2 separate regions of the Homo sapiens genome follow, and region 1 is linked to region 2. The links are contacts of gene promoters, found by promoter capture Hi-C in blood cells and fetal thymus (Javierre and others, 2016). All regions are on one chromosome and are shown on one strand. Each heading gives the region's core, a stretch centred on a gene start or on the middle of the fragment in contact. The rest is flanking DNA. Distances are from core to core; before and after follow the strand shown.

Evidence for each region. Contacts are between HindIII fragments. The CHiCAGO score rates a contact against its expected background, and 5 or more counts as called.
Region 1: a contact is called between a fragment that was not itself captured here and the fragment with the promoter of AVPR1B in region 2, in 1 of 17 cell types (endothelial precursors). The highest score is 5.3, in endothelial precursors.

The regions. Positions count from the first base shown.
Region 1 is chr1:205,888,398-205,892,795 of GRCh38, forward strand. It overlaps PM20D1-AS1 (PM20D1 antisense RNA 1), which reads left to right. Exons shown (of 3, transcript NR_046097.1): 2 at 2,759-2,912. Among named protein-coding and RNA genes, the nearest start is that of PM20D1-AS1, 29 kb to the left of the region's middle. The HindIII fragment of the contact is 1,546 bases long and covers 1,956-3,501 here.
Region 2 is chr1:206,115,336-206,119,881 of GRCh38, forward strand. AVPR1B (arginine vasopressin receptor 1B) reads right to left here and starts at 2,053. Exons shown (of 2, transcript NM_000707.5): 1 at 616-2,053. The coding sequence starts at 1,555. It overlaps AVPR1B-DT (AVPR1B divergent transcript), which reads left to right and starts at 2,448. Exons shown (of 3, transcript NR_186693.1): 1 at 2,448-2,490; 2 at 2,735-3,005. RefSeq lists a silencer at 2,873-3,167. The HindIII fragment of the contact is 5,056 bases long and covers 1-3,995 here.

The DNA of each region.
Region 1 (4,398 bases), core at 1,479-3,978, 230 kb before region 2:
GCACAACAGTTATGGAGGCAAGGGAACAGGCCCTTGAAAAGAAGGTAGTGTGGAGTTGGTAGCCTCTGTATTGATTAAGAAGGGGACAGACTTACCCTCCACTGTAAGTTACCCAAAACTCGGCATCCGTGACAGTTCAGGGGGCTTCTGAGGTGATTGGCAGTGTCAGTGTTCAGCCACTAAGCCAAGAAGACCTGGGAAGGAGACAGTCAGAGCCTTGGGCCAGTTGGACAGTCCAATTTCCAGTGGGGTCCCGCACAGATGGGACACAGCTTAGGAGGAATCCCAGGCTGCAGGCATTCCTTGGCCCAGTGGCCAGACTTCCAGCACTTAAAGCAAGATCCTGGGGGAGGAAGTCCTGAAGGGATGCCTGGCTGCTGTGGCTTAGGCATTTTGAAGTTTTTGTGTGCTGGAGATATGGCTGGGGTTTCTCTCACAGCAGAGGCAAGTAATTGCAACTCTTCTCTATTATCATACACCTTGAAGGTGCAGTTAATTAAGTCCTGTTGTGGGGTTTGAGGGCCAGAATCTAATTTTTGGAGCTTTTTCTAATGTCAGCAGCAGATTGGGTAATAAAATGCATAGAGAATAAGATAGCCTTCTGGCCCCTCTGGGTCTAGGGCAGTAAAGCGTCTAAGGGTTGTTGCCAAATGGGCCATGAACTGGGCTGAGTTTTTATATTTGATGTTAAAAACTGATTTGGGAGAGGTCGGATAAAGAAAAAAAGGAGCATTAACCTTGACTATGCCTTTAGCTCCAGCCACCTCTTTAACAGGAAATTGTTGGGCAGGTGGGGGAGGGCTAGTTGCAGAACGAAACTGTAAGCCAGATTGGGTGTGAGGAGGGGAAGTGATAGAAAGATTATAGGGTGGGGGAGCAGAGGCTGAGGAAGAATTGGGTCCTAGCTTGGCCTGGCGAGGAGCAGCCTGGGGAGAAGGGGAGAGGTCAGATCAGTCTGTAGAAAAGAAGGATTCAAAGGACTCAGAGTTTGGGGTGGAGACTGAAGGAACAGACAGGAGCTAAAGAAGAAAGATTTGGGATGAGTTGCATTGGGCACAGAGACTAGGGAGGGACCAATGTGTATTAGAAGGCCTGGATGTCAGGCACCTCAGACCATTTGCCCATTTTTCAACAAAAATTATCTAGGTCTCGGAGGATGGAGAAATCAAAAGTGCCATTTTCTGGCCATTTAGAACCATTGTCGAGTTTGTATTGGGGCCAAGCAGTGTTGCAGAAGAAAATAAGACATTTAGATTTTAGTTCAGGTGATAGTTGAAGAAATTTTAAGTTCTTGAGAACACAGGCTAAGGGAGAAGAAGGAGGAATGGAGGGTGGAAGTTTGCCCATAGTGAAGGAGGCAAGTTTAAAGAGAAAGGTAGAGACATGGAGAAAGGGTTGGGGAGCAGCCCTGGGCTGCAATGTGGGTGAGCAGCCAAAGCAGGCATCCCCGCAATTGACTTGCCACCAAGGGAATGTGGTTGAATGACCAAGGCAGGCATCCCTGAAGATATCAGACGCCAATGGAATGTGGGTGAATAATCAGGCAGGCATCCCCGGAATGATTAAACACTAAGGGAAGGCTGCCTTCCTGAGTACATGACCAGCACCAGAGTTTTGGGTCCATGGATAAAATGTGTCTCCTTTGTCTCTACTAGAAAATGAAAGGAATTGAAATTAAGAGAAGAGAGGGAGTGAAGGGTGGCACCAAGAATGAAAGGAGAAAGAGGTTGAGGGATAGTGAGAAAGGTTGGAGAAGAGAGTAAAAAGAGGCCACTTACCCGATTTAAAATTTGTGAGATGTTCCTTGGGCTGGTTGGTCTGAGGACCAAAGGTCGTAGGTGGATCTCTTCATGGAGTGAGGGTGAGGACAGGGGACAGTCTCCTGAAGGAGTCCTGCTGACCTGGGTCTTTGGCACCAAATGTGTCATGCATCCATGTGAAGAGACCACCAAACAAGCTTTGTGTGAGCAACAAGGCTGTTTATTTCACCTGGGTGCAGACGAGTTGAGTCCAAAAAGAGAGTCAGCCCAGTCTATATCTTTTAAATGGGAAAATTCAATCTATTTACATGCAACGTTATTCTTGATAGGTGAGTACTTACATCTAGCATTCTATTATTTTCTGCTTGTTTTGTATATCCTTTGTTCCTTCCTCTCTTACTGTTTACTTTTGTGGTTGGGCAGTTTTCTGTAGGGATAAGATTTGAGTCTTATCTCTTTCTCCCTATGTGTTAGCTTTACCAGTGAGTTTTTATAGTTTCACATATTTTTATGATGCTGGTTATCATCTTCTCTGTGGGGAACAGGCCCCCCAAAACCTGGCCATAAACTGGCCCCAAAACTGGCCATAAACAAAATCTCTGCAGCACTGTGACATGTACATGATGGTCTTAACGCCCACGCTGGAAGGTTGTGGGTTTACCAGAATGAGGGCAAGGAACACCTGGCCCACCCAGGGTGGAAAACCGCTTAAAGGCATTCTTAAACCACAAACAATAGCATGAGTGATCTGTGCCTTAAGGCCATGCTCCTGCTGCAGATAGCTAGTCCAACCCATCCCTTTATTTCAGCCCATCTCTTCATTTCCCATAAGGAATAATTTTAGTTAATCTAATATCTATAGAAAGAATGCTAATGACTAGCTTGCTGTTAATAAATACATGGGTAAACCTCTGTTGGAGGCTCTCAGCTCTGAAGGCTGTGAGACCCTTGATTTCCTACTTCACTCCTCTATATTTCTGTGTCTTTAATTCCTCTAGTGCCACTGGGTTAGAGTCTCCCCGACCAAGCTGGTCTCAGCAAGTGGTCTCCATCATGGGGGCTCGAATCCAGGTTGAAGGGTCACCAGAGTGATGGTTGGAGAACATGGAACTAGCTGGAGGACACCTGAGTACTCTTAAAGCAAACCCCGTGGTGAGTAAGAAGGGGAGCTCAGAAGCATCAGGGTAACAATGGGACAAGTGTGGGGTCTGGTTCGTTCCATCTTGGAACTTTTTCACACTGATGATGAGGAAGAAGGAGAGTATAATGAAGTAACAGAAGAGGTTATAGAGCAGGTTTATTTGCCAGCTAAAGCTAAAGTGGCAAAGGAGGGAGAGGTTCATCCCTACCCTTCTGCACCCCCTCATTATTATTTTGAAGAAAAAGAGTGGCCTGACCCTCCAGATCTTTCTTTTCCAGAGGACAGTGGGCAAAAATTAGTTGCCCCAGTGACTGTTCAAGCAGCACCTCGAGCGACTGCTCTTAGTTCTATTCAGTCAGGAATTCAGCAAGCTAGATGAGAAGGTGATTAAGAGGCTTGGCAGTTCCCTGTTAGACTACACTGCCCAGACCAACAGGGAAATATTGTAGCTACATTTGAGCCTTTTTGTTTTAAATTACTCAAAGAATTTAAACAAGCTATTAATCAGTATGGACCAGGTTCTCCTTTTGTAATGGGACTATTAAAGAACATTGCTGTTTCCAGTCAGATGATTCCTACTGACTGGGACGCTCTTACTCAAGCTTGTCTAACTCCTGCTTAGTTCTTACAATTTAAAACTTGGTGGGCAGATGAAGCTTCCATTCAGGCTTCTCACAACACGCAGGACCAACCTCAAATTAATATAACTGCAGACCAACTTTTGGGGGTTGGCAGTTGGGCTGGTTTAGATGCACAAATGGTCATGCAGGATGATGCCATAGAACAGCTTAGAGGAGCGTGCATTAGAGCTTGGGGAAAAAAAATCACTTCAAGTGGAGAACAATACCCTTTCTTTAGTGCTATAAAACAGGGACCAGAAGAATCATATGTGGATTTTATAGCTCAGTTACAGGAGTCTCTTAAAAAGATGACTGCAGATTTGGCTGCTCAGGATATAGTGTTGCAATTATTAGCTTTCAACAATGCTAATCCTGATTGCCAGGCTGCTCTGTGACCTATCAGAGGGAAAGCACATTTAGTTGATTATATCAAGGCCTGTGGTGGTATCAGAGGTAATCTGCATCAGGCCACCTGCTAGCACGGGCAATGGCAGGACTGAGAGTGGATACAGAAAGTACTCCATTTCCTGGAGCTTGTTTTAACTGTGGGAAGCATGGTCATACTGAAAAAAAAAAAAGTAGAAAAAAATCAGCAAGTCGGGCCACCAGATAGGGGAAAAAAGAAAACTGCTGAGCCTGAAATATGTCCAAAATGTAAAAAAGGAAAACACTGGGCTAATCACTCTAAGTTTGATAAAGATGGGAACCTGATTTCAGGAAAAGCCATGAGGGGCCCATCCTGGGCCCCATTCCAAACTGGGGCATTTCCAGCTCGGGTCATTCCCTCACCCCTGTACAATGCCTGTCCCCCACCACAGCTGGTAGAGCCACACTAGATTTATGCTGCAGTAGATTTATGCTGAGTCTTCTGCCTGGG
Region 2 (4,546 bases), core at 803-3,302:
GCTTAATAAACTTTTGCTACTTTGCTATTTGTGTGTGTCACATCCAATTCTTTGTTCGTGGCACCAAGAACCTGGGACTTCACCACATCAGCTGGTAACAGTTCCTCTCTGAGCCTCTGTTTCCTCATTAGTAACATGAAGAGGTTGAACTGGAAATTTCAGGGTTTTCATGTGCCAACCCTAATTAACTGGAAGTGTCTGTTGAGAAGGAGCTCAAAGGCATGTCCAGGTGCAGGAGGGACAAGGCTGAGAGAGCAAGTTCATGGGCCACAAATTGCTATCATTCTATGATTTTAAAGCCCATCTAGCAAACTAGTAGTTGGTGGCCAAATGTGCTAATGGTCATATTTCATTAGTACCACCTAGTATTTTAAAATTGTTAGTTACCAAAATTTTTAAAGCTGGAAATTTCACGTAAAAGATACTGACATGGCATCGGTAGGCTGAATGGAAATCATAACTGCCCCTTTTCACTTGGAGCAGGCACCATCTTCCTTCATTGCCCCACTAGTTTGTCACCTGCCTGGCCCTGGGAGGCATTGTAACCCTGACCTAATCCCCCATCCTCTCTTTCTGTCTCTCCCACCTCACTGCCCCCACATAGACCCCACTTGCCTTCATCAGGGGCATTCTTGTCCCACACGGACCACATCTGGACACTGAAGAAGGGAGCCCAGCAAGCGATGTAGGCCAGCACGATGACAAAGGTCATCTTCACTGTTCGGATCTTGGCCCGTGAGATGGTGTTGATGCTGCTGACCCGAGATGGCAGCCCCCGAGTGGTGGCAGCTAAGGTGGAAGGTGAGGGCCTGTCCCAAGTCCTCCAGCCCCCTCCTCCCACCCGCCAGGCCTGTGTCTTGACTTTTAGGTTTTTACAGATCTCATGGCAGATGAGGCTGTAGCAGGCCGTGAGCATGGTCACCGGCAGAACGAAGATAGCCAGGGTGGTCCAGGTGAGGTAGGCCCGTGGCCCCCAAGGGAAGCCGAAGTCTGCCCAGCAGTCCAGCACCCCTGAGCCCTGGATCACCTCCCGCAGGGAAAAAATGAAGACTTGAGGGAGGCTGAAGATGGCGGCCAGCAGCCAGGGAGCAGCGATGAGCAGGTAGGTGGACTGGCCTGGCTGCTGGAGGCTGCGCAGGGGGTGACAGACAGCCAGGTAGCGGTCCAGCGTCATGGCCAGCAGCATGTAGGTGGAGGCAAACATGCTGAGCACCTGCAGGTACTTGACGGCCCTGCACAGGAGGTCGGGGCCCTGGAAGCGGTAGGTGATGTCCCACAGCAGCTGTGGCAGCACCTGGAAGAGCGCCACGGCCAGGTCTGTCAGGGCTAAGTGCAGCACGAACAGGTGCATGCGGGAGCGCTTGCGGCCCAGCTGGCCCAGGGTCAGCAGCACAGCCAGGTTGCCCCCGGTCGCCAGCACCAGGACAGTGGCCAGGACTCCGATCTCCACCTTGGCCAGCTCCTCATCCCGGCCCAGCCAGGGTGTTGTGGCATTGGGGGCAGAGAGGGTGCCCCGAGGGGTGGGGTTGGCATCCCACAGAGGCCCAGAATCCATGAGCAAGGTTTGCTGGGAGGGAAGGATGAAGGGAGGGTGTGGATGCAAGTGGAGAGGTTTGATGGATAAAATGGAGTGGCAGGGGAGGTGGAGAGAAAGGAGAAGCGTTGAGAATGACAGGGAGAAGGCTTGCAAATAGGCGGAAATCGTTCAGAGGACTGGGATAGAGAGGAGGAGGGAGGATGAGATTCGGAAGGAGAAAATGTGACTGGGATCGACCCAGGAGAGGGAGAAGGAGGGGTCAGGAAGATGGGGAATCAGGACGGGAAGAATGGGGGACGCTGTGCAGAGTGAGGCTTCTGGGAGGGAAAGAAGGCTGGGGAGGGGCTACCACCCTCCAATCCGCCTCAAATTCTCTTTCTCCAAACTTTTCTGGAAGCCAAGAGCGGAAGCCCTTCAGCCTGCTTGGAGGCGCGGTCCGGGGCAGTCGGTGTCGCGCTCAGGGCAGGAAGCCCCAGCCAAGCCCGCTCGCTCTGCCTGGTGAGCAGCGGCTGGAGCGCAGCGGCGCGGCTCGGGCGGGTTTTATGGGCTCCCAGGCCGAGCCCGGCGGCCTGCGGCTCGCCAGTTGGCTCCTGCAGAGGAGGGAGGAGTGAGGTTCGCAGGCACCCACCCGGCGGGATGACCGAGAGGCCGGCTGCTGGAGGGAGGGGGGGCAGAGGGGGTAGCGGACGAGGGACAGGGAGCGAGACAAGCAGGCGACGCAGGCCAGCGCCCAGCAGCCGGCAGGACACACCGACCCGCAGGCAGGCAGATAAGCTCCTCTGCGCACTCACCCTGGAACTCTCGGGCCGTCTCTCCACAGGTGCATCCCCGGGGGATGGTGAGAGGCAGTCACTCCTCCCACCTACGCGGGGGCACTTCGGCTGGCGGCTGTTGGCGCGCCCTCTGCCAGCCGGCTAGCCGGTGCAGGATCCACAATCTTCAAGGGTGGCCAGGTGAGCGAGGCGGCATCCCTGATTGCCAGTCACCTGGGAGTGACGTCTGACCGCAGACCCTGTTGAGGGACTGCGAGGCATAGGGAAAGGAAGAAAAAGTGAGGGTATATGTGGGGGTGGGGAGACGAAGGAGCTAGACCTGAGAGCCCTGGTGCTTGATCGGTGGGAACAGCCGGAGAAATTCCCGGTATTTGCGTCCCCAAGGGACATCTTAACTTCTGGCCTATGTGCTTTTCGTGCTTAGGTGCTTCCAAGATCCTAAACGCAGTTAACCACTCGGCGAGGTAGAAAACAGGCCCAGAGAAGTTCAAGAACTTGCTGTAGAAGATTACTGAACGAGTAAGCAGCAGAGGCCGGTCTAGAACCAGCCCCGTGTGCCCTTCTGACAGCGCAGCAGCAGCACTTAACACCTAACCGGCTTGGCTAAATTCTATGTGAGAGGCACTGGTGCTGACGGTAAAAATAAAAACAAAACACCATCCAGTCCAGAGGCAGCTTACAGCTCAATAGAGAAGGTATTGTGTGGTGTTGGCTGTGAAATTCACTTAATCTTCAGTATGCAAGATGGACTATTGGGACTCTCCCTAGAGCAGATTAGAAGTTAGGAGTGACAGACTGGGCGCGATGGCTCACGTCTGTAATCCCAGCACTTTGGGAGGCCGAGGCGGGCAGATCACGAGGTCAGGAGATCGAGACCATCCTGGCTAACACGGTGAAACCCCATCTCTACTAAAAATACAAAAAATTAGCCGGGCGTGGTGGCGGGCGCCTGTGGTCCCAGCTACTGGGGAGGCTGAGGCAGGAGAATGGCGTGAACCCGGGAGGCAGGGCTTGCAGTGAGCCGAGAACACACCACTGCACTCCAGCCTGGGCGACAGAGTGAAACTCTGTCTCAAAAACAAACAAACAAACAAACAAACAAACAAACAAACAAAATTTAGGAGTGACAATAGTAGGGTCCCAGACTCTCAGAAAGGGCAGAGTCTGTGACAGGAGAGAAGTCCTTTTGTCTTGCTTTTTTTTTTTTTTTTTTTTTTTTTGAGACAGAGTCTTGCTCTGTCGCCAGGCTGGAGTGCAGTGGCACAATCTCGGCTCACTGCAACCTCTGCCTCCCAGGCTCAAGCGATTCTCCCTCCTCAGCCTCCCAAGTAGCTGGGATCACGGGCACCCGAACCACGCCCAGCTAATTTTGTATTTTTAGTAGAGGGGGGTTTCGCCATGTTGGCCAGGCTGGTCTCGAACTCCTGACTTCAGGTGATCCACCTGCCTCGGCTTCCCAAAGTGCTAGGATTACAGGCATGAGCCACTGCATCTGGCCTTTGTCCTGCCTTTTAACCAGACTCCCCTTTATAATGTCACCAGACATCCAATTAGCATTACTTCTTGAAGGTTCTACCTCCTCAACAGCCTACAAATTCAGCGCCTTCATTCCATCCCATGACCACTTACCATTTAGCTGCCTAAAATATAGTAGCATCCTCCTTCTGTGCTTTGGAGCCCAAGCTTCCACCTTCCCAAGGATTTTGCTCTTTATGATTTTCATTCTGTCTACCAGATCATTCCCACCCATTTGCAAACAAGCTGTAGTAATATTTATTTAAAAAAATAATTATAACTCTCCTTAGCCACTATACTCCCACTTCCAGCTATTACAATCCCTACCATTTCACAGCAGAACTTCTCAAAACAGCTGTCTATGCTTGTCCCCATTCTCTTACTCTCAATAATTGATACATTGTACTATTCTGGAAATTGCTTTTTAAACTCTACATTATGGTGGGGCATGGTGGCTCACGTCTGTAATCCCAGCACTTTGGGAGGCCGAGGTGGGCGGATCACCTGAGGTCGGGAGTTCGAGACCAGCCTGGCCAACATGGTGAAACCCCATCTCTACTAAAAATACAAAAATTAGTTGGGCGTGGTGGTGGGCACCTGTAATCCCAGCTGCTTGGGAGGCTGAGGCAGGAGAATCACTTGAACCCAAGAGAAGAAGGTTGCAGTGAGCTGAGATCCCACCATTGCACTCCAGCCTGGATGACAAGAATGAAACTTTGTC